Linked DNA regions of Homo sapiens: regions 1, 2, 3, 4, 5 and 6 are each linked to region 7. The links are contacts of gene promoters, found by promoter capture Hi-C in blood cells and fetal thymus (Javierre and others, 2016). All regions are on one chromosome and are shown on one strand. The core of a region is centred on a gene start or on the middle of the fragment in contact, and the rest is flanking DNA. Distances in the headings are between cores, read along the strand shown.

Region 1 (3,140 bases), core at 82-2,581, 330 kb after region 7:
CCTTTCTCTAAACTTGGCCCTGAGATGCCTACTACATCGCCTGGGTTTGAATCCCACCCCTTAAACCAGCAGCATATTTGGCAACTTGGAATCTTTTAGCCACACTTGGAACGTCCGTAACATTGAAACAAGAATGCCCCATAGTGTAGTGGATGAGGGGAGTCGAATGGGAATCTCCGTAGAGCTCGCGGCACAATGTACCGCACGGACAGGCGAGCGAGGAGGCGCGCGGGCACTGCGGCCGCCCTCATGCTAGCCCCCGCCCCCTCGCAGGCTCCCGGCCTTCGCCAACCTGCAGGAGGCGCTGCTGGAGAACATGATCCAGAACATCCTGGTGGAGGCGAGCCGCGGGGAGGTGGTACTCACCTCGCGGCCACGCGTCATCGCCCTGCCGCCGTTCTGCGTGCCCAGGTAAGGGCGCCGGGACCAGCGGCCGCGCAGACCGCGCGAGAGGGGCCACGGGGGCAGCCAGGCTCTGCCCGAAGCCTCGCCCCCACGCCTACCTGGGACTTTTTGTCTTCCAGGAGTCTGACCCCGGACACGCTGCTGCCGACGCAGCAAGCAGAGGTACTCCACCCGGTGGTGCCACTTCCTACCGACCTTCCGTAAATGCCCGCGCCCAGCCTCTCCGACATGCCGCTAGGGGTCACGCCTGGCCCCCTCTCCACCGCCAGTAAAAGCATCTAGTCTTTTTTCTGTATCTACCTTGACTTTATTTCCCCGACGAGGGGGAACGCGCGCGCGAGCTCTGAGAGGGAAGGATGGCAGGGAGCAGCCCGGGCGGACTGCAGAGGCGCGGCGGGAACTTAGGGCCCGGGAGGATGCACCTCTCCGCCCACACTGCAGCTGGACTGAGACCTGGCCGCTAGCTGCCGGCCGCTGGACCGGGTCTGGCCAGTGGAGGGCGCTCCGGACGGGGCCTGGCTGGCCTTTGCCCCAGCGCACCTTGGTGCACAGTAACTGAGTGCCAGGCCTGGCCAGCGAAGCAGGTGTCCACTGGGCAGGGCGGCCACCCCTCACCTTTCCGCGCCGCGCCTGCTCGGAGGCTTAGCACCCCCAGGGCCAGCCCCTTAGCATTTGCCGAGCTCCGAGTGCCCAAGAGGCTGGGGAGGAAGAACTGAGGCACGCCGCGGAGGGCCAGGAACTAGGCTGGGGCGGGTCGAGGTCACCACTGGATTTCGGGCCACAGACCCTGCTAAGCGACTCCCACTGTGAATCAGTCCTCAGACGAGGATGGATACCCACCTCTCGGTTCCTCCTAACCCCCGCCCGGGAGCTTCTGTCCTCTGCTTCTCGGCTCCTCCCTCCCAGAGGCAGGTGGGTGGAAAAGTGACATCTGGTGTTGTTCCAGAGGCGCCCAGGGTCCCCAGCACCCTCCCCTCCGCCCCCGCCACCAAGGCCTCGGAGAAGCTCCGGTCTCAGAGCCCGGGCGGGGGAGGGGGGAGCGCTCCGCCTCCATGAGTCAATATTTGCCCCGAGCAAACGGGCGCCTGGACAGGTGTGAGTGTGTGTGTCTGGGGGCGGGGACTGAACAGGCAGTATAAGAGCACACGGAGCCCGGGCTCCGGGACAAGCTCCAAGGCGTGGGCTGGGGACGAAGCCAAGCTAGGCTGGGCCGGGCGGAGGGGCCAGGAAAGCCGGGCGGAGGGTGGCTGGGAAAGGAGGGGCGGGCCAGGTGCGCACCTGCGGTGGCCGCCGCGGCCGCCGACGTGTCAGCCGCAGATGCGTTCAGGTGAGGGCGGAGGCTAGCGGGGCGCTGTGCAGCACTGAGCTCGCGGAAGACCAGGACCAGGAGATCACCGAGGGCGACCGCCAGGCCCCGGGCCCTCCGCTCCCGCCCCGCGACGAGCCCCTCGCACAAACCGGACCTGAGCGTTTTGTTCGTTCGGCTCGCGTGAGGCAGGGGCGGCCTCTCAGCACCAGCCCGGGGGCCGGCCTGATCGCCACGCAGGCACCTGCCGCCGCCACCGCCACCGCCATCTCAACCGTACGGGTGGGAGAGGCTGTGCGCCGCTCCAGGGGAGATCCGGCTCCCATCCGGCCCCACCCGCCCTGCCTTGCCCTGCCCGCAGCTTCTGGGCTGCCAGGCTCCATTCTGCGTCGTAATACGGGCTGAGCCGGCTCCAGCGGGTGGCGAAGGGGGCCGTGGCCCAGAACAGAAACCCTTCTGGAGGTGGAAACCCGGATTCTAGTCCGCCTCTGTCCCCGCGACTTCTATGGCCTTGGGCAAGTCATTTCCCGGCCTCTTGGTTTTCCCATTTGCTCAGTGAACGGTTGGTCTGGCCTCCCGCAGGGGCTAGGCCCTCCCCAGCCTCCTGTCCCGGTTCCTGGGCTCCTGGTCATGCTGGGGAAGATGCAGGCCCTCACGGAGTTGGAGCCAAGGCTGAGGTGTGGAAAATCTGGGCGGGGGAAGCTGAGGGCCACCATGGAGCCTCAAATCCACTCCTCGGATCTCTGTGGTGCTGCTGACATCCTGAGATGTCACTCCCTGACACTCCCTTGGTCCCTCTTTCAGTCTAAAAACGTCTGAGACAGTCAGACTGACTGAAAAGGACAAGCCCCCAGGCACAGCGGTTCACCACCTTCCTCAAACCTCAGAATCCCACATCCTCGCTTCCATCAGCTGGGGTGGGGTAGGTAGGTGGCCCTCAGCTCAGGCAGAGGCAGCCCCGGGAGATGGGAACCAGGGTCAGAAGTCCCTCCAAACTGCATGTTCCTAGAGGTGCTGGATTGTCCCCTCCACCACCACCCGCTCTAGTGCCCCTATGTCACCCAACTACCCAGAGGCCCCAAAGGATCTGCTGAGCCCGAGTCCGTGGCACAGAGAGAGAAGGGGGAGGGGCGAGATGGCGTTGGACAGATCCCAGGCAGGTTTAGGGAGAGGGTGGACTACAGCAGGGCTCTTCGTGGAGCAGCCCCAGGGGCAGGGGAAGGTCCTTGGGTCCTGGGCTAGGGTGTGTGCAGCCCTCTCCTGGCCCCCCTGACCAGGCTCTGTCCTGGGCCAGCCCTTTACTCTGCCTGGCACTGAAAGATTTGCCTGTCAGGGGCCTGGCATGGTCCTGGTGCACCTTCCCTGTGTCTTTGAGGGCTTCCCCTTCCCTCCCCAACCATGTCAGGGGCCAGGATTCCACATCCTGGGT
Region 2 (3,180 bases), core at 38-2,537, 410 kb after region 7:
ACTCTCGCTCTTTCCTGCTCCACCACGGTAAGACATGCTTGATTCCCCTAACCCCTCCACCACAATTGTAAGTTACCAGCCATGCTTCCTGTTAAGCCTGTGGAAATGTGAGGAAATTAAACCTCTTTTCTTCATAAATTACTCAGTCTCAGGTAGTTCTTTATAGTTAAAATGGATTAATATATCATGTGTTGATGAAGTTCCTGTTATTCCCTCCTTACCCTCCTACGTGGATTATCTAAAGATATTTATTTCACTCCCACAAAAATGTTTTGTTCTCACCCATTCCCGAGAGCTGAAAGTAGGCTGTGGGAACTTTGAGTGAGAAAATAAGAGCAGCCTACTCCCCCTGACCATATTCCTGCCTGATGGCCAGTATTTGGGTGACACTTCACCCTGCCACCAATTTTTTGAGTCCTATTTCCCACAGACTCTGTGTTAGTCCATTCTTGTGCTGCTATAAAGAAATACCTGAGACTAGGTAATTTATAAAGAAAACAGGCTTTGATTTGGCTCACGTTTCTGCAGGCTGTACAGGAAGCATGGTGCCAGCATCAGCTTCTTGTGAAGGCCTCAGGAAGCTTTCAATCATGGCACAAAGTGAAGGGGAGCCAGCACATCACATGGTGAAGAGAGGGCGCAAAAGAGAGAAGGGGGAGGTCTCAGATTCTTTTAAACAACCAGTTCTCATGTGAACTAACTGGGAGAGAACATCACCAAGAAATGGTGCTAAGCCATTTGTGAAGGATCCACCCCCATGATCAAATCACCTCCCACCAGGTCTCACCTCTAACAGTGACGGTTACATTTCAACATGAGATTTGAAGAGGACAAACACCCCAAACATAACAGACTCACTTGTGACTTTGCCCTGTAAACTTTCAGGGAAAATGAGGTCACTTCTGACCCAGAGACTCTGTCATCTTACCCTCTCCTGGGGGTCTTCATCTAAAGAAGTAAGTGTAAATTCCTTACTGATCCAGTTTTGTATGTGTATGTGTGTGTATACACAAAATTTACTATATAGAAAGTAAATTCTTCTACTATATATATGCATTATATATATACACATTATAATGTATATATATAATGTATATATAAATATATATAATTGTGTGTGTGTGTGTGTGTGTGTATATATATATATATATATACAGTAGAAGAATTCAGAGGTGTTAGAAATTATGAAGAGGGGCCAGGCACGGTGGCTCACGCCTGTAATCCCAGCACTTTGGGAGGCCAAGGCGGGCGGATCACGAGGTCAGGAGATCGAGACCATCCTGGCTAATGCGGTGAAACCCAGTCTCTACTAAAAATACAAATATTAGCCAGGCGTGGTGGCGGGTGCCTGTAGTCCCAGCTACTCGGGAGGCTGAGGCAGGAGAATGGCATGAACCCAGGAGGCAGAGCTTGCAGTGAGCTGAGATCATGCCACTGCACTCCAGCCTGGGCGACAGAGCGAGACTCCATCTCAAAAAAAAAAAAAAAGAAAGAAATTATGAAGAGGATTATAAGATAACTACCACAGAAGGCAGGTGGAAGTGGTCTCTGTGGAGAAGGAAGAATTGGGGAAGAGCCCACAAGGAACACACGAGACCATCGTTATATTTGTTTCTCACCCTGAGTAGTGGGTACACAGATGTTCACTGGACTATTAATCTTTAAAATGTACATATATATTTAACACATTGAAGTGTACATGATGGATTTCATAATTTTTTTAAAGTAAAATATTGTGAAAGGGAAGGGAAGGAAGGAAAGGAAGGCAAATGAAAGGAAAAGAAAGGAAGAAAGAAAGAAGGAGGGAGGATGGGAGGAAGAAAGAAAACTGGATTTGTTAATAGGAAAGAATATATCAATGTCAAATCCCCATTCTAGGCTAGCATTATTCAGCATCCAGAAGGATCATCTCAACAATTACTCAGTGGATCAGCTTATTTAATTGATGACTGTACAGTTAATTCATGCTCAAAAATCAAACATTCTAAGCTTCTTTCTATGAATATCTTCCAGACCAAGATTATTCATCTCATGGTTTTAAAGGACAGAATTTCCTGGAGAATGTTGGTCCTCTTGTAGGTGCTACTGCAGCAAAGTTGAAACAATCATACGTCAGACCAAAATACAAGTCAGTTCTTCAGTTTTCACTAATTAAAATTAACTCTGTCTAAATAAATCAACTCTTACCACCTTCAGGATTCATATCTCAAGTAAGAGACATTCTTACTGACCAATAACACAAAATATCCCACCCTCAGCACTAGGATCCTCAGTTTTGAATTCTTTCAACCATTTTTGTCAAAAGCCTTGCTGTAGCCAGGTGTGGTGGCACATTCCTGTAATCTCAGCTACTCGGGAGGCTGAGGAGGGCAGATCCATTGTCCCTAGGAGTTGAAGGCCAGCCTGGGCAACATAGCAAGACTCTGTCTCAAAAAAAAAAAAAATACATGACAACAATAACATGAAAGCCAGGAGAATGCTAAAATGAATTAAAGTGTCATAAGGTCCCTAGAGTTATTTAGAAAAGGGTGAAAGTACTAATTCAAGGGTGACCTAATTAAGCCAAGGATGCATGCTATAATATGTGGGTAATAAAATAACAATAATAGCAAACACGTGACTACTAATTTATAGAGGATGAAAATGAAATAATTAGGAAAATATTGATTGATCCAAAAGAAGGCAAGAAAGAGGTAAAAAGAAACAAAAAACAGATGTGAAAAATGGAAAAAAATGGCAAAATGGTATACTTTAAACCCTACAGTATCAGTAATTACCATAATATAAATCAATTAAAGGCAAAGATTTTCAGACTGGACAAGAAAAAAAAAACAACTATATGCTGTTATAGAAGACACACCTTAAACATAAGGATGCATAAAGGTTGGAAATAAAGGGATTTTTGGCCAGGTGTGGTGGCTCATGCCTGTAATCCTAGCACTTTGGGAGGCTGAGGTGGGTGGATCACCTGAGGTTAAGAGTTCAAGACCAGCCTGGCCAACATGGTGAAACCCCATCTCTACTAAGTATACGAAAATTAGCCGGGTGTGGTGGCACACGCCTGTTATCCTAGCTACTTGGGAGGCTGAGGCATGAGAAACACTTGAACCCGGGAGGTGGAGGTTGCAGTGAGCTGAGATTGTGCCACTGCACTCCAGCCTGGGCAACAGAGCGAGACTC
Region 3 (2,922 bases), core at 212-2,711, 460 kb after region 7:
AGGAAGTGCTCAGATAGGTTAACTGACTTGACCAAGGTCAAGCTAGCAAACAAGGCATTTTTCATTGTACCATACAACTTCCTCTGAATTCCTTTTAACCTGCCTAGAATGGTGCCAGTTCATGCCACTTCCCCAGCTTCCCTCCCTGGCATTGTGGAGGAAGATGTCCAGCATCTTCCACCCTATCTCACCCCCTGCAGGACCCAGCAGTGGTAGAGTCTGGGAGGCTGGCATCCCAGCCCTAGGTCTGGGCCAGCCCAGACGTCCCAGACAGTCTGGAACCCTAGAAGCTTGACCCAAGCTGTCTGTAGGTCTCCTTGCTTCCTTTCAGTCCTATCCTCTCCTGCCCACCACTCTCTGAGTTTCCCAGATGTCCTGCAGGTCCTGTCTGTCGCTCCCTGTTAATAGAGAAGCTGGGCTCCGCATGCCCTCTGGTGGTCTCTGAGAGAAGTGCAGGAGTTTGGGTTTTGGGCTTGTTTGGTTTTTTTGTTTGTTTGAAGATAAGAGCAGAGCTTTGGGGAAGGCAGATCTGTGAATATAAACCTTGCCCTCAGGGAGCTTCATTTCTCCTCTATGTGGACCATAATGTATTTCCACTGTCTCCTTTGGTAAGTTAACAGAGTTTCCTTTGGTCAAGGAGTTCTAAGTCCAAATTCTCCATGACTTCCCTGAGGCCCAGACATTTGACCCAAGGGAGCCAAGAGGAGGCAGAAAGGAAAACCCTGGTGCCTCAACCTTCCCACTGCAGCCTGACACCCCTCCCCACCATGAGCCTTGAGGATTGAAGCAGGCTAGGTCACCGAGTGAATGCAGGGGCATTGCGGGGGAAGGACAGGGGTCCTGGAAGCCACGGTGAGGGTCTGTCACATCCAGAACGAGCTCCCTTTCCTTCTGTTTCATTTGAAGGACTGTGCTTTGCTCCCTGTGCCTGCCCCACCCCCCTGTGGTTCTAGAGAGGCTGTCAATCCCAGGCATGGTAGTACATCTCCCTAGACACCATTATTGGTTCAGGAATAGGCAAATGACCAAGCTGAACTAAGCAAGGTCTTCCTTGGGACTTCTGTTGGAGACAACTGGGAAAGTCATTCTTCTGCTTTTGGATCTAAGACTGCATATAGAGCTGTCATGGAGAAAGTCTGCAGGAGGAGATAATGAGGACAGTATGCCAAGAGAGGCAGAGATAAGCAGAAACAATAGATGCAGAGGCGAGGGAGAGGGAAGGAGATGAGAAAGAAGCCTGTGACACCACGTGAGCCCCTGGGTTCAGCTGTACCTGAATTCAGACTAACCTCTGGACTTCCCTGGTATAAAAGCCATTCATTATTTCTGTTTGGCCTCAGCTAAAAGTCAGGTATCTTCATTTGCAATCAGGGCCTGCCCAATATCTGCAAAGCATCATATGTCTGTCCCCATTCTCACAGTAACTATCATTTACTAAACATATGTTTGACAAATTATGTGTCACAAGCTATGCTAAAGGCTTTCATATCTCAAAAAAAAATTCTCCCAACAATCCTGTGAGGGTGTGGGACAGATTATGATGGCTGCAAATTATTTGCCACTCCTCCCATTGAGAGGTGGAATTAATTTTCCCTCCCTTTGAATTTTGCCTGGCTCTGTGAACTGTTTTGACCAATACACAGTTACAGTGATGCTATGTAACTTCCAAAGCTGGACTTGAGAAGATACTTACAGCTTCTGCCTTCAAGTTTGGTACACTTTCCTTTGAAAGTCAGTTTTGGCCGGGCGCGGTGGCTCACGCCTGTAATCCCAGCACTTTGGGAGGCCAAGGCAGGCGGATCACGAGGTCAGGAGATCAAGACCGTCTTGGCTAACACGGTGAAACCCCATCTCTACTAAAAATACAAAAAAACGTATCCAAGTGTGGTGGTGGGCGCCTGTAGTCCCAGCTACTTGGGAGGCTGAGGCAGGAGAATGGCATGAACCCAGGAGGCAGAACTTGCAGTGAGCTGAGATCACGTCACTGCACTCCAGCCTGGGCAACAGAGCGAGACTCCATCTCAAAAAAAAAAAAAAAAAAAAAAAAAAAAAAAAAAAAAAAAAAAAAAAGAAAGTCAGTCTTATGTAAGAAGTCTGACTATCCTAAGGCTAACATGCAGCGAGGAAGCCCAGGTTAGCCACATGGAGAGAATGAGAGCACAAGAGAAGCTCTGTGCCCTAGACATGTGAGTGGGGGCTTCTTGGACTGTCCAGCACAGCACAGTGGAGACTCCAGCAGAATGCAGCCATGTGAACCCAAGCCAATGGTTCTGCTATATAGAGCAGACCTACCAAGCTGAGTTCTGACCAATCATGACCTCAAAAATCCTGAGAAGTGATTACTTTGGGGTTGTTTGTTATGTAGCAATGGATAACTGAAACAGAGCGAAATCCCTTTGTATAAAGAAAATGAGGCTAATTTGGCCTCTGTTGTAAAGTTCTAAGCAGCAGCACCAACTGCAAACCCAGAGTGTCTGACCCCAAAGCTCATTTTTTGTCCTCCATACCTTGATGGGGGAGTCATTCCCCATTGCAGTATTTGGACTGGAGGAAAGTTGGAGGCTCTGGGTCCTGGAAGTTGGGCTATGCCATCCCTCTTTCTCTCTGGAGGAAGATGAGAGCTCAAGCTTCAGCTCTGGAGAATCCAGAACTGCCCTCTGTCTCCTCACTTTCACCAGTAGCTTCCCAAGAGGAACCAGAAGGAAGGAAATATTGTTGGGTGTCAAGAGGTATGCATCAGAAGCTTCTGATGCCCCTGTCCCTTTAAAGAGGAATTGCTAGTTCTTCTCCAGCTTGCAGATCCAGGACCTAGATGTGTGACAGGAGTGAACAAGAAGAATGCCAAGGGGAGATAGCGAGTTTCCAGGAGAGGCCAACCTGGTCGGGAGATAGGGACCCAGGTGATAGCCCCTGAGGTGCTAG
Region 4 (3,203 bases), core at 489-2,988, 380 kb after region 7:
CAGTCTCAGCTCCTGAGGTGTGCAGAGGGGGTGGGTATGCACGAGCCCAGACTTCTCTCCCTCTCCTGAGGACCTTACCCCAGGGGAGAAGTGGGTGGCTAAAACAAAGGAGGGGAGCAGAACCCCTCTACAGATAACAGTGGAGGGGGGAGGGGGTAAGCAGAGAGAAGAGAGGAATTGACAGAGGAGGTGCTGCTAGCTGTCAGGAGGGAGACCCAAATTCTCATGTCTTCCCATTTCGCAGGCTGTTTGCTAGAAGGACTTAATTAAGGAGCCCAAATATAGTTTCTTTTGAACAGTGAATAGGGCTGGGAGCACAGATGAGGAATGTGATGCTCTGGGGTGGGGAGAGAAGGGACCAATGCTGAGATGCTGGAGGGCCCAGGGTGAAGGGGACAGAGAAGACAGGGGTGAGCTGGTGACTCCTTTTCCCTGCCTTAAGCTCTGCTGCTTTCCTTGATGGAAGGGGGGCCATTTCTTCCTTTCCCATCCTCTGTCCTGATCTCCCTCCAACTCCCTGGCTCCTGCCTTCACCTCCTTTACTGTCCCCTGAGAACAGCTCTCTCTGTCCAGTCCTCCCAGCACTCACCAGAAGCTTTAAGTCTTGGTTCACCTTCTGCCTCCACCAAGCCCCCTTTTTGCCTCCTCCCTTTCGTCCCCCACTCCTTCTCCTCCCAGGCCCCGCTGGCGCCCAGCATAGCACTACAGATGTAGGAGCAGATCAAGAAGGGTGGGGGTGGTAGCTGTTGCTTTTCTGGGATATTCTTAGCCTGTCTGGGGGCTGGAGCTGGAATCAGCGTTTCCATCTCAACCAGGCAGGTGGCTGCCAGAAACTGCCACTGTGACTGGGTCTTCATCTGGTTCCATATCCCTTATCCTGTCCCTTCCTCCTCTATATTGATTTCATCGATGAACACAGACCCTCTGAGAGTCCAGCCTTCCCACCCTTGTGCCCTAGATGGAAGGTTTCCTCTGCCTATCAGGCATAGCCCCAGGAAGGTGTGCAAACCTCACTGGAGGCTCTGCGGGGAAAGAAGGGCCTTCGAGAACTCTAGCTCAGATGCTCCCTAGAGTGGAACACAGCCCTCTCCTCTCTGCCCCCAGGCCCTCTTCTTTCATCTGCCCCCAGCAACCCCTGCATGGTACTCAGTCCCCAGACTGTATTCACCACCATGAAGGCCTTTCTTATCTTGATTTACAGGAATCACTCAGGGGCCCTAGAGTTTCAGAAGCTGCCTCCTGAAAGCGGCTGAACCCTGGAGTCCAGGCCTCCTTTGGGCCAGAACAAGGGGCTCACTGACCCAGATCTCTCCCCACATCTTTTTTTTTTTGAGACAAAGTCTCACTCTTTTGCCCAGGCTAGAGTGCAGTGGCATGATCTTCACTCATTCCTGGGCTCAAGGGATCCTCCCACCTCAGCCTCCCAAGTAGTTGGGACCACAGGCATGCATCACCAGGCCTGGCTAATTTTTGTACTTTTTGTAGAGATGGAGTTTCACCATGCTGCCCAGGCTGGTCTCTAACTCCTGGGCTCAAGCAGTCTGCCCACCTCAGCCTCAAAGTGTTAGGATTACAGGCATGAGCCACCTCGCCCAGCCTTCTCAGATGCCCTTATCAGTAGAGGGAGGGGCAAAGAAGAAATCTCACTCATTCACAAATCGCACAAAAAATGTTTGTCACCTTAAGAGGGACAGACAGTGCAGGGTCTCCTATGTGGGTTCTGAGGTCATTCGGTCTATGTTCAAATCCAGCCCCTCCACTTATGACCTGGGGCCCTTGGGGCAAGTTTCTTAATTCTTCTGAGGTCTATAAAAGTGGACCATACAAGGTGCAGTAGGAAGAGATCACCATCCACAGTCGGGCTGAGGCTGAAAGCACGTACCAGATCAAGTATGAGGAGCTGCAGACGCTGGCTGGGAAGCATGGGGATGACCTGCGTTGTGCAAAGACAGATCTCCGAGATGAACCAGAACATCAGCAGGCTCCAGGCTGAGACTGAGGGCCTCAAAGGCCAGGGGGCTTCCCTGGAGGCCGCCATCGCAGATGCCGAGCAGTGGGGGGAGCTGGCCATTAAAGATGCCAACACCAAGCTGTCTGAGCTGGAGGCCGCCATGCAGCGGGCCAAGCAGGACATGGCACGCAGCTGGGTGAGTACCAGAAGCTGGCCCTGGACATCGAGATCGCCACCTACAGGAAGCTGCTGGAGGGCGAGGAGAGCCGTCTGGAGTCTGGGATGCAGAACGTGAGTATCCATAAGAAGACCACCAGTGGCTATGCAGGTGGTCTGAGCTCAGCCTATGGGGGCCTCACAAGCCCTTGGCCTCAGCTACAGCCTGGGCTCCAGCTTTGGCTCTGGCGCCGGCTCCAGCTCCTTCAGCTGCACCAGCTCCACCAGGGCCATGGTTGGGGAGATCGAGACCCACAATGGGAAATGGGAAGCTGGTGTCCGAGTCCTCTGACGTCCTGCCCAAGTGAATAGCTGTGGCAGCCCCTCCCAGCCTGCCCCTTCTGTGGCTGCCCCAGAGTCCGGGAGGGAGGCCACTGTGCAGGGGAGCACAGGGAATGGGAGACCCACCTGAGGCTCAGCCCTAGCCCTCAGCCCACCTGCAGGGGAGTTTACTGCGTGGGACACCTCCTTTGCCCATATCTCCAGCTACAAAACAATTCCGTTTTTTCCCCCCAAAATAAAACTTCAGCTAGTTCTACCAACTGGCAAAAAAAAAAAAAAAAAATGGACTATCATCATAAGGTTGTAAGATTTTATTTAATCATGCAATGCTCAACAATGCTTGTATATCACATGTGCATGGTGTTCATAAATGTTAATTGTTAACAAATTATACTGTCATCATTATTTTTACAGAGCAGGAGGAAAGCTTTGCCTGACCCGTGCCATTAGCATTTTTTTTCTCATTAGAACATTTTTCATTAAAGGGCCAGGGTGGTACTATCATTTCTTTTTGTTTGGTTTCTGAAACCCAAATTTATATCTGTGCTTTCCTCTCAGATACTGTGCTCATACCCACTGCTACTCAGACTGTTCCTGGGGGTGGTTTGATTTGCTTCCTAGGGTCATAAAGACCGACAGCATATTAGGCACTGGTCCCCTTTTCTGGTCCTGTTGCAGGCCACTTTAATTTTCTGAAGCTCTGAATATTAATTCTGGGCCAGGTTCCATGCTGGCCCCAAGTCCTGACCGTGCT
Region 5 (3,356 bases), core at 57-2,556, 400 kb after region 7:
GTGCACACCTGCAGTCCTAGCTTCTCAGGAGGCTCAGATAGGAGGATTGCATTAGCCCAGAAAGTCGAGGCTGGAGTGATCTGTTATCCCACCACTGCACTCCAGGCTGGGCCAAAGAGCAAGATCCTGTCTCAAAAAAAATGAAAACCCAAAAAGTATTATAGAGGGATAGGCTAAGCAGTTAACCAATCAAAGAGGGTTTTTTTTTTTATGGATTTTGTGGTGTTTGCAATATTTGTGAGCTTTATAGAAGTTATAATTTGACATGATTTCTTTTCTTGTCCTAAATAAATAATCATTTTACTGCCTAATATTATACTCGTAATTTTATAATCTCTTTCTTAAGAAGAGCCCTCCTGAATGTATAACCTTCAGGCCCCACAAAGCCTATTCTTTCACCTTTAAATAACACAGGCCCTACCCTCAAGGAATTCACAGTTAGAGCCTGCACAGATTACAGTAAAAGCATCATTCTGGGTAAGACTTCATTCCTCCAGGAAGTAATGCAGCCCTCCCTGCTTCATGCACCAGCACATCAGATAAACATTCTCCCAAGTCCAGAATAATTATATCTTTCCTTTTTTTTTTAAACAGTATAAAGAACATTTTTGCTTAACCTGTTTGAGGATAAGTTGTCAACATGATGCCTCATTATTCATGAATATTTTAGAATGCATTTCCTACCACAAAGAATGTCTTAGCTCATTCAAGCTGCTATAACAAACTAGCATAAATTGGGTGGCTTATAAATAACAGAAATTTGTTTCTCAAAATTCTGGAGGCTGGGAAGTCCAAGATCAAGGTCCTGGCAGCTTTCTTGTCTGCTAAGGGCCCAATTCCTCACAGACAGCTATCTTTCCATTGTAACCTTACTCACCTCCCAAAGGCCCCACTTTCTAATATCATCATCTTGGGGGTTAGGATTTCAACAAATGAATTTGGGGGCCGGGGGAACATAAACATTCAGTGCATTGCAAGGACTTTTTCCTGCCAACCACAATGTAATTAATGATCAAAACAAGAAACTGACTTTGAAATATTACTGCTAAACAGTCTACACATCTATTCAAATTTCACCAATTGTCCCACTAATGTTATTTTTCAGTTCCTTGAACCAATCCAGGATCCCACATTGCGCTTAGCTGTTAATGTCTCTTCATTGGTGATTTTAACCTTGATCACTTGATGAAGATGGTATGGTATCTGCTAGCTTCTCCACTGTAAAGTCACACTTTTTCCCTTGGCAAGATGCTTTGAAACTAAGTAAAATTACTCATAAAATTTTGAATTATTTATTTTTATCAAATGGATTCGTGGATTCCCATTTTATTTAATGTGTTATAATCTGTTACTATCCTTATTTCAATGCTCAAATTGTCCCAGATTTGGCCAATGGGAGCTCCTTCAAGCTAGTTTCTATGTCTCTTTGACAGAATAGATATTATTCTTTCAGCATTTCTTCATTCTCTGGCACAGTAAAGTATTCTAGGTTTATCTTGTATTTTTCCTTCCTTCAGGCCTAGAACCAACCATTTCTCTAAGGAGCCCTGGTTCCTGTTAGGAAAGAAAGGTGTTTAGAAACTAAGATCTGGATGCTAGATATGCTCATTGCTATTGGGGTGTTGCTCTTCCTAGCCCCACTCAGTGGACAGCCCTAAGAAATATACTCCACACACACACTTCTATATCCATCTATGTATACTGAAAACTTTAAGTTCACACTAATACCTCTAATTCTAATCCAATACTCCAGCATTCACTCTAGTTTCATCTCTTTCCATTTTGGTGGTGGAGGGGGTGGATTGTTTTTTGAAGCAGGGGTTCTCTCTGTCATCCAAACTGGAGTGCAGTAGCATGAACATGGCTCACTGCAGCCTTGATATCCTGGACTCAAGCCATCCTCCCACCTCAGCCTCCCAGGTAGCTGGGACTACAGGCATCTGCCATCCCACCCAGCTTATTTTTATTTTTTGTAGAGATGGGGTTTCACCATGTTGCCCAGGCTGTTCTTGAACTCCCGGGCTCAAGTGATCCTACCTCAGCTTCCCAAAGTGCTGGGATTATGGGGATTAAGACGTGAGCCACTGTGACTGGCCCATATTTTTAACTTCTTTCTCCAATAGTGAGAAACCTGGTTCCCATTTTCTTCAATCCATTTACTCACTATATAAATCCCTTTGCATGTTAACCAATATCCTGTCACTGCCACATTCCCTCCTTCCCAAAACTTCTATAAATGTTCTTCTAATTCCACTTGGGTTCTGACACCCTCTGCTGGGTCATCCCTGATGTCAAAGCTCTCCTCACTCCTTTGGTGCCTGACATCTGTGTCACATACGAACATTTTCTTTCCCTCTTGGTGCATCAACATACCACCCAAGACCACCTAACATGTAGATGTCCTTGTCCATCTTTCTGGGCTCTGACACCCTGTCCTGGATCGCCCTTCCATGGAGATGACCTCCTCACCCCATTCAGGCTCCTACATCCTATGCAGATGCTCTTCCCACCCCTACTCAGGCTTGGACACCCTCCACATCAAGCATCATAATAGTAATAAGGTATTGTAAGATATCCCCCTGATATTAGGACCAAGTCAAGAATGTCACTATCATTACTTCTGTTTGACATTATACTGGGATCTGAACTGAAAAGAAATAAAAGGTATAAGTACGGGAAGGAGAAAATGAAATTGTTCATTATTAAGAGACTACATGACTGTGCATGCAGAAAGTAAAAAGTACTGGACAGAAAGAACAAATGAGTTTAGCAAGGTCACTAGATACAAGGGTCAGTATTTTAATGATTAATTTTATTCTATATATGAGCAATAACAATTGGAATTGAAATTTTAAAATATTACTGATATAGCATCAAAAAAATCAAATACCCAGGAATAAATCCAGTGAAAGATATTCAAGATTCTACACATGAAACCAGCAAACATTACTGAGAAAAATTAAAGAAAATCTGAATAAATGGAGGAAAAGAAACCATGTTAGTGAATTATAAAACTCAAGAGTGTTAATTTTTCCCTAATTTATTACTACATTAAATGTAATCCTAACCAAAATCTTAGTAGATGTTTCAATGGAAATTGACAGGCTGATTCTAAAATTTATATGGGGCTGGGCGCAGTGGCTCATGCCAGCACTTTGGGAAGTAATCCCAGCACTTTGGGAAGCCGAGGCAGACGGATCACTTAAGTCCAGGAGTTTGAGACCAGCTTGGCCAACATGGTAAAACCCTATCTCTACTAAAAATACAAAAATTAGCCAGGCATGGTGGTACACGCCTGTAATTCCAGCTACTAGGGAGGCTGAGGCACGAGACTTGCTTGAACTTGGGAGGTGGAG
Region 6 (2,977 bases), core at 40-2,539, 500 kb after region 7:
CCATGTTTGAGTAACCACAGCCAATGGCCTCATGTAGACCTTATTTTTATGCTTGAACACTCTGGACTTGGTGTTCTTCCTACTCTCCTTTCTCTCAAACTGGTGGTGGCTATCTTGAGTCCATTTGAAAAAACATGCTTGGTGTGAAGGAAATTCTCTTACACTGATCTCTGTCCTCTGAGCCAGTTCCCACTGTCCAGTGAGCAGATGTCCTTGAGAAAGGCTGGGGACCACAGGAACAGCCCTGGCCAAGGCTGTCCTCCCAACTCCATTCTCCTCCACCCTCCCCATTGGCAGAGTAGGAACATTGAGGGTTGATGGAAAACACATGTAATAAACTCAGACAGAAATTCACCAGTCTGTTGTTGAGTGTCCACTCCAGGGCCAGGGCTGGGATGGAAGAGGCTGGAAGGAGGAGAGAAAGGGAGGGGCAGAGAGAGGAAAGCCGGAGCAGCTGGGTCAGCATTCCCAATCCGGACATTGACTCAGGCTCCGGGAATGCCAAGGAAGAGGGTGGCAGCTACTGGAGCCAGGCTGGGATCCTGTTGGCACCAGGGATGTAGGCACAGCACTCACAGAGGGTTGGGGGCTGGGACACCTGCACACCCAGGCATATCTCCCAACCACAGGTGGAAACAGATGTCTCTTCCCCTGCGGGGAGCTCTGAGTGCTCCCCACGCCTTCGAGGTGATTCTCACAGCTCTTCACCTGCCTGAAACACCCACTCCATCTCCTTCACCTGAGAGAGGGACACACTCCAGGGACTCAAATCTGGACATCTGGACATACACTAGCTGCTCTCCTGGACTACCCACAAACCCCTTGCCTCATCTCCAGCCTCTGAGCTGGCTGCAACTTGCCCTTTCTAACTCCAGCACCACCCTCTACTGAAATTAGAACAAGGAAGAAAGTTATGCTGATCTGCCTCCATGTTCCCTTCTTTGGTGCCTGATAAAGATGAGGGAGGCTCTTGGAATAGGGGCTCAGGACTCTGAGAGCCCAACTCTGCTCAATGACCATGTTCCCACATGCTCCAAGCCACATCCCCTCAAAAAGGGTCCCTCTAGCTTGTCCTCAGTGACCCAGGAGGCAGCTGAGGACCAAGTACCCAGATTATCCGGTGCGCCCCTTCCCTCCCAGCAACCCCCAGCCTTCAGGGCTGTAGCAGCTGAGCAAATGGGGGCCCCTCCCTCTCATTGCCTGACACCCAATCAGAGAGAAACCGATCCTGGCAGGGCAGGGTGCCCGGGGCCGGGCCCAGAATAGTGCAGCCCAGCCACAGTGTCGCACACTTGCTCTCAGTTGGTCTGGGGCTGGCCACATGGAGCCCGGGCTGGAGCACGCACTGCGCAGGGTATGGGGGTCCCAGGGGAGCCGGAGCCGGGGCAGCTGAGGCCAGAAGATTGAGCGCACGGGCTGTGAATGTGTGTGTGGGCGTGTGTGTCTTCTGGTGTGTGTTTGGTCTGGATTTTCTCGTGAATATGGGCATGTGCATGTTTGGGCATATGTATTGTGAGTGTGTGTGGTTCTGTGTGCCTGGGAGTGTTTGGATGTGTGTGTTTCTGTGTGTGTTTGTGTATGGCTGCATGTCTGTGTATGGCGTGTGTCTGAGCGTGTGTATTGGTGTGCATGGGTGTGTAGGCGTGTGTTCAGGGAGAAGGGGTTTGGGAATGTAAGGCACTTTCCCCACTCCTTCAGAAACTCTTCTCCCCACAGACCCCTTCCTGGAGCAGCCTTGGGGGTTCTGAGCATCAAGGTAGGGAGAATGCCCCCTCCCTGGGGCCTAACCTCTTCCCCCACCTCCTTGTCCCCCACTTTTCTGGGACCCCAATTCCCTCCCAGCCTGGCTTTTATCTTCCTCCTTTTGGTCTTTCTTCCTCATTGTTCTTCCTCCTTTCCCCAGGTGTGTTTCCCTCACCTCCAATTTCCTCTTTTCAGAAGTGACTTTCCCACTTACTTGCTGTGTGATTTGCAGCAAATTGCTTAACCTCTCTGAATTTCTGGTCCCTCACTAGCAAAATAGGGATGATAATAATGCCTGCTTTATAAGGCTGCTGTAAGTTTTAAATGAGAAATATGTTGGAGAAAAGCCCATTGGAAGCTTGCAAATCCTAAAGATTATGAATAACATTTGAATTGATTTTGATGCATTACTCCCTATTAACCAAACAGGCCCCATTCCCCTTCCAGAGATGAGCTTCCTAGAGCAAGAAAACAGCAGCTCATGGCCATCACCAGCTGTGACCAGCAGCTCAGAAAGAATCCGTGGGAAACGGAGGGCCAAAGCCTTGAGATGGACAAGGCAGAAGTCGGTGGAGGAAGGGGAGCCACCAGGTCAGGGGGAAGGTGAGGCCAAGGCCAGTTCTGGGGAGGTGGGAGCCAGGGGAGTGGGAAATCCCAGAGGAGCCTGGGTCTGGTCTCTACCTCAGGTCCCTCCATAACACAGAGTTGGACCCAACCTTCATCTTGTGGCCTCAGTCTCCCTACATAGTAGAGAACAAGGCACTGCAGTGCCAGAGGCCAGCATGGCCAACTCAGAAAGATGGGACAGAGCCACTACCTGGGGCGACTCTCAGGTCAGCCCCTCACCTGCAAATAGGGCCACAGCATCCAGGCTTCCCACTGCTGCTGTGAGATGAATGGCGACAGCAGATGAGAACGTGCTTTGGAAGATGGAGTTACTGTCCTCTTCCCCTCCTCCCCCAAACAGGTCCCCGGTCCAGGCCAGCTGCTGAGTCCACCGGGCTGGAGGCCACATTCCCCAAGACCACACCCTTGGCTCAAGCTGATCCTGCCGGGGTGGGCACTCCACCAACAGGGTGGGACTGCCTCCCCTCTGACTGTACAGCCTCAGCTGCAGGCTCCAGCACAGATGATGTGGAGCTGGCCACGGAGTTCCCAGCCACAGAGGCCTGGGAGTGTGAGCTAGAAGGCCTGCTGGAAGAGAGGCCTGCCCTGTGCCTGTCCCCGCAGGCCC
Region 7 (3,043 bases), core at 421-2,920:
GTATGAAAGCATGGAGACTGATCAAGAGTTAGAAACCTACAGGGAGTATAGTCCTCAAAAAAAGGAAGTCCACCAAGTGACTTATACATGTATAGGCTTTTCCTCTGAAGATACTTCAGAGTTCACTGCAGTACACAGGGAAACAGCTCTGTCAGCAACTGGCAGTCTTACTAAGGAAACAGCTTTTGGAGTACAGAGATGCCAGAGCATCTGGAAATTGAGGAAGAAATTTAGAAAATGAATAAATTACAGAGAGAGGAACTCAAAATCTGCATCCTAACTCCCCTCCAATTCTTAGCTATCTTCTAAATGGCACTTGCGCAGGGTGAGATTTCAAGGAACCTAGTGAAAAAGTCAAATATCTGAACAGAGATTTTGGCAGCTGTCACAGTGTTAGGGTGACTGAGTTTGGAGTTCAGGACCCGTAAAATAGAGAGTTTTGGTAAATGACTTTGGGTTATGTTGAAATCCAAAAAGGACCACACCTTAGCCATAAGCACCATATCCCAGGACTAAGAGATACAGGCTAGAATTGAGAATAGGATGAAGTACTCCTTCCCTAACCAGACTGCCACAGGATCAAGACTTTTTACCAAAAATTTAATTGCCTGCCAGAACAAACTCAAACTATTACCCTTTAAAGATAATAATATAATTCAGATCCTTTGTAATGTATCAACCCCAAATGTTCACTATACAAACCCTTAGGTTTAAGTAATCCACTATCTCGACCTCCCAAAGTGCTGAGATTACAAGCATGAGCCACCATGCCCAGTTTAATAAATGTTTTAAGCTTAATGAAAAAAAATTTAAATGCCAGTCTAAGAGTTAGAAAGCTCACAAACTAGCTTGTAAGTACACAAGAGTGAAAGCAAGAGGTCAGTTAGCTAGTTAGTTACTACAACAACTCAATTTAAAAGAGTACAGTGTCCAAGGCCTGGCATGGTGGCTCATGCCAGTAATGCCAACACTTTGGGGGGCCAAGGTGGGAGGATTGCTTGAGCCTAGGAGTTTGAGATCAGCCTGGGAAACATGGCAAAACCCTGTCTCTACAAAAATAAATAAATAAATAAATAAAATTGGCTGGGCATGGTAGTGTGCACCTGTAGTCCCAGCTACTCTGGAGCCTGAGGTTGAGTAGAGGTCGAGCGGAGGTTGTGGTGATCTGAAATTGCAAGACTGTCTCAAAAAAAAAAAAAAAAAAAAGTACAGTGTGCAGTGGTTTGGACCAAGGCGATGGCAGTGGATGTGGAGTAAAGTGGATGGATGTGCCATATATAATATATAATATATAATATTATATATATATATATAGCAGATCGAACCTATATGATTTCTAAAGGGTTTTAAGTGGGCCAGAGTAAAGAGTGTCAAGGATAATAAAATAAACTAAATTCCTTGAGTGCCTACTGTTTCATCGCTGTTCATATTTGATTCTCACAACAAACCTGAGTAGGTACAACTTGCACCCGTATCTTACGTGCCATCCGTTTCTGCAGCCTTAGGACTGGGAGTACAGGCGGTGGTTCTTGGGACCCAGCTAATGCCCGAAAGGAGCCGGGTCAGGAATTCCAAGAGATGAGGGTGGGGAGGCGGTAGGGGAAGGAGCTGGGGAGGCGACCGCAGGGGCAGGGCCCGCTCACGATTGGCTGAACTGCCGAGGAGGGTTAAACAGATTCGGAGTCGCGGGCTGGTGGGAAGCTGCAGCCCCGCTCAGCCCCTCGGCCGTGGCCGCTACCTTCACTGAGACTTGGCCGGGGAGTGAGCGCGCCGAGCCTGGGAGGATACAGCACCCACTGTGGCCTGGGAGCTCCGAGGGGCTCCAGCTGCTTGTCTGCTTCCTGCTGCTGAACAGCTGCCCGGGGGGCTGCAGCGACACTAGTGCCCACGGTCAGGAGGAACCCTGGGGGGTGCGGGCAGGGCCAAGAAAGCGATCCTGAGAAGTGGGGGTCTGCAGGGGGCCTCAAGGCTAGGAAACTTGGAAGTAAAAGAATGTGCTTAAGGACGTGAGAAGAGAAAAAGGTAGACAGCGTCTAGCGGAAAGAGGCATAGGCTTCAGATAGGCTGGGCATATGGGGTCTGGACTCACGAGAAGTGGGTTCAGGTGAAAATTGGGGATTTGGGAAGAGGTCAGAAAGACAAATGAACAGAGAGAGGTAAAACTGGCCTATGTGGCCACAGGAGAAGCAAGAAAGGCCAGAAAAAGAGTTGACCAGGGCTGCGGGTATCGGGGTCTTGGCTCCAGGGAGAAGGCTGGGCCAGGAGACGAGCCAGGGCTTCCTCGTGCTGTGATCCGGTTTCCAATAAGGGGACCGCTGAGGGAAAGCAGGATGGAGGGGGAATGGGACCATCCTTCTCCCCTTCCCCCGCACCAATCCGCGTAGACCCCGCGCTGACTCACGTGCCAGACTGCGCACACTCGAGAACTCCTGCGCAGAGCGCATGGGGAAGAGAGCGCAAACTCCTAGTCTGTCGCCCCCTCTCCCTGATTTTTGGTTTTAGAGGCCAATGCAGCGGATTCAGGAACAGCTGTGGGAGGAGGCCTGGTGGCAATGAGAGGATGAGGGCCGTGGGGAAGGACCGCCAAGCCTTGCGGAGATGTCTCGCCCACATTCCGCCCAGCGCCGCCGCCACGCTGGCCTCCCCACCTCTCAGCACCACGGACAGCGCCAGGCGCGCTCCGGGTCCACGCCGAGCCCGAGCGGGTCACCACTCCTTCCCACCAGTCCTGGGAACGCTGCCTCAGAGAATCAGCTCCCCTTCCCGAAGCTCTTTCCCTTCTCCTCAGGGTGTTGGAGGTTCCACTACTTCCTTAAGGAGGCTTTCTCATCCCCAAATGTCTCTACTTAAAACTTTGTCACGCTTACCCCCAGGAAATTATTAGACATCCATTTGACTGGGTAGGAGAATTCCCTTTTCTAAAGACCTGTCCAGAATGGCTCATGGTAACTACACTATAGCAAAAAACAGACTGTCCTCCAGCCCTATCTCACTGATCTGGAAGAAGGAAGGTGTGCATAGCATTAGGGGTTCTCTTCCCCAA

Evidence for each region. Contacts are between HindIII fragments. The CHiCAGO score rates a contact against its expected background, and 5 or more counts as called.
Region 1: the fragment with the promoter of CFAP65-AS1 here is called in contact with the fragment with the promoter of RESP18 in region 7 in 6 of 17 cell types (M2 macrophages, M1 macrophages, megakaryocytes and 3 more); the score reaches 10.9 in M2 macrophages.
Region 2: a contact is called between a fragment that was not itself captured here and the fragment with the promoter of RESP18 in region 7, in 4 of 17 cell types (M2 macrophages, erythroblasts, total CD8 T cells and 1 more). The highest score is 8.5, in M2 macrophages.
Region 3: a fragment that was not itself captured here is called in contact with the fragment with the promoter of RESP18 in region 7 in 4 of 17 cell types (M2 macrophages, M1 macrophages, megakaryocytes and 1 more); the score reaches 9.5 in M2 macrophages.
Region 4: a fragment that was not itself captured here is called in contact with the fragment with the promoter of RESP18 in region 7 in 7 of 17 cell types (M2 macrophages, M0 macrophages, erythroblasts and 4 more); the score reaches 10.6 in M2 macrophages.
Region 5: a contact is called between a fragment that was not itself captured here and the fragment with the promoter of RESP18 in region 7, in 2 of 17 cell types (M2 macrophages and M1 macrophages). The highest score is 7.3, in M2 macrophages.
Region 6: the fragment with the promoter of PRKAG3 here is called in contact with the fragment with the promoter of RESP18 in region 7 in 8 of 17 cell types (naive B cells, activated CD4 T cells, total B cells and 5 more); the score reaches 11.2 in naive B cells.

Annotation. Positions count from the first base shown.
Region 1 is chr2:219,000,406-219,003,545 of GRCh38, reverse strand. CFAP65-AS1 (CFAP65 antisense RNA 1) reads right to left here and starts at 1,331. Exons shown (of 3, transcript NR_046086.1): 1 at 1,246-1,331. CFAP65 (cilia and flagella associated protein 65) reads left to right here. Exons shown (of 35, transcript NM_194302.4): 34 at 274-411; 35 at 525-700. The coding sequence ends at 609. MIR375 (microRNA 375) reads left to right here and starts at 1,838; the gene lies at 1,838-1,901. RefSeq lists enhancers at 1,265-1,559, 3,002-3,140. The HindIII fragment of the contact is 13,795 bases long and covers 1-3,140 here.
Region 2 is chr2:218,919,466-218,922,645 of GRCh38, reverse strand. LINC01494 (long intergenic non-protein coding RNA 1494) reads left to right here. Exons shown (of 5, transcript NR_110238.1): 3 at 886-956. It overlaps LOC124906119 (a long non-coding RNA gene), which reads right to left. Exons shown (of 2, transcript XR_007088090.1): 2 at 1,922-2,085. Among named protein-coding and RNA genes, the nearest start is that of LINC01494, 9.6 kb to the left of the region's middle. The HindIII fragment of the contact is 1,408 bases long and covers 584-1,991 here.
Region 3 is chr2:218,874,308-218,877,229 of GRCh38, reverse strand. It overlaps a transcript of WNT10A not described here. Among named protein-coding and RNA genes, the nearest start is that of WNT10A, 5.1 kb to the left of the region's middle. The HindIII fragment of the contact is 2,337 bases long and covers 293-2,629 here.
Region 4 is chr2:218,952,673-218,955,875 of GRCh38, reverse strand. It overlaps the pseudogene KRT8P30. Among named protein-coding and RNA genes, the nearest start is that of CDK5R2, 5.4 kb to the left of the region's middle. The HindIII fragment of the contact is 2,281 bases long and covers 598-2,878 here.
Region 5 is chr2:218,935,311-218,938,666 of GRCh38, reverse strand. The region is part of intron 1 of LOC124907984 (a long non-coding RNA gene); the gene reads right to left. Among named protein-coding and RNA genes, the nearest start is that of LINC01494, 6.4 kb to the right of the region's middle. The HindIII fragment of the contact is 5,628 bases long and covers 1-3,356 here.
Region 6 is chr2:218,830,115-218,833,091 of GRCh38, reverse strand. PRKAG3 (protein kinase AMP-activated non-catalytic subunit gamma 3) reads left to right here and starts at 1,289. Exons shown (of 14, transcript NM_017431.4): 1 at 1,289-1,354; 2 at 1,717-1,756; 3 at 2,191-2,346; 4 at 2,711-2,977. The coding sequence starts at 1,322. The HindIII fragment of the contact is 3,600 bases long and covers 1-2,103 here.
Region 7 is chr2:219,331,371-219,334,413 of GRCh38, reverse strand. It overlaps RESP18 (regulated endocrine specific protein 18), which reads left to right and starts at 1,670. Exons shown (of 6, transcript NM_001441699.1): 1 at 1,670-1,890. The coding sequence starts at 1,785. The HindIII fragment of the contact is 5,862 bases long and covers 796-3,043 here.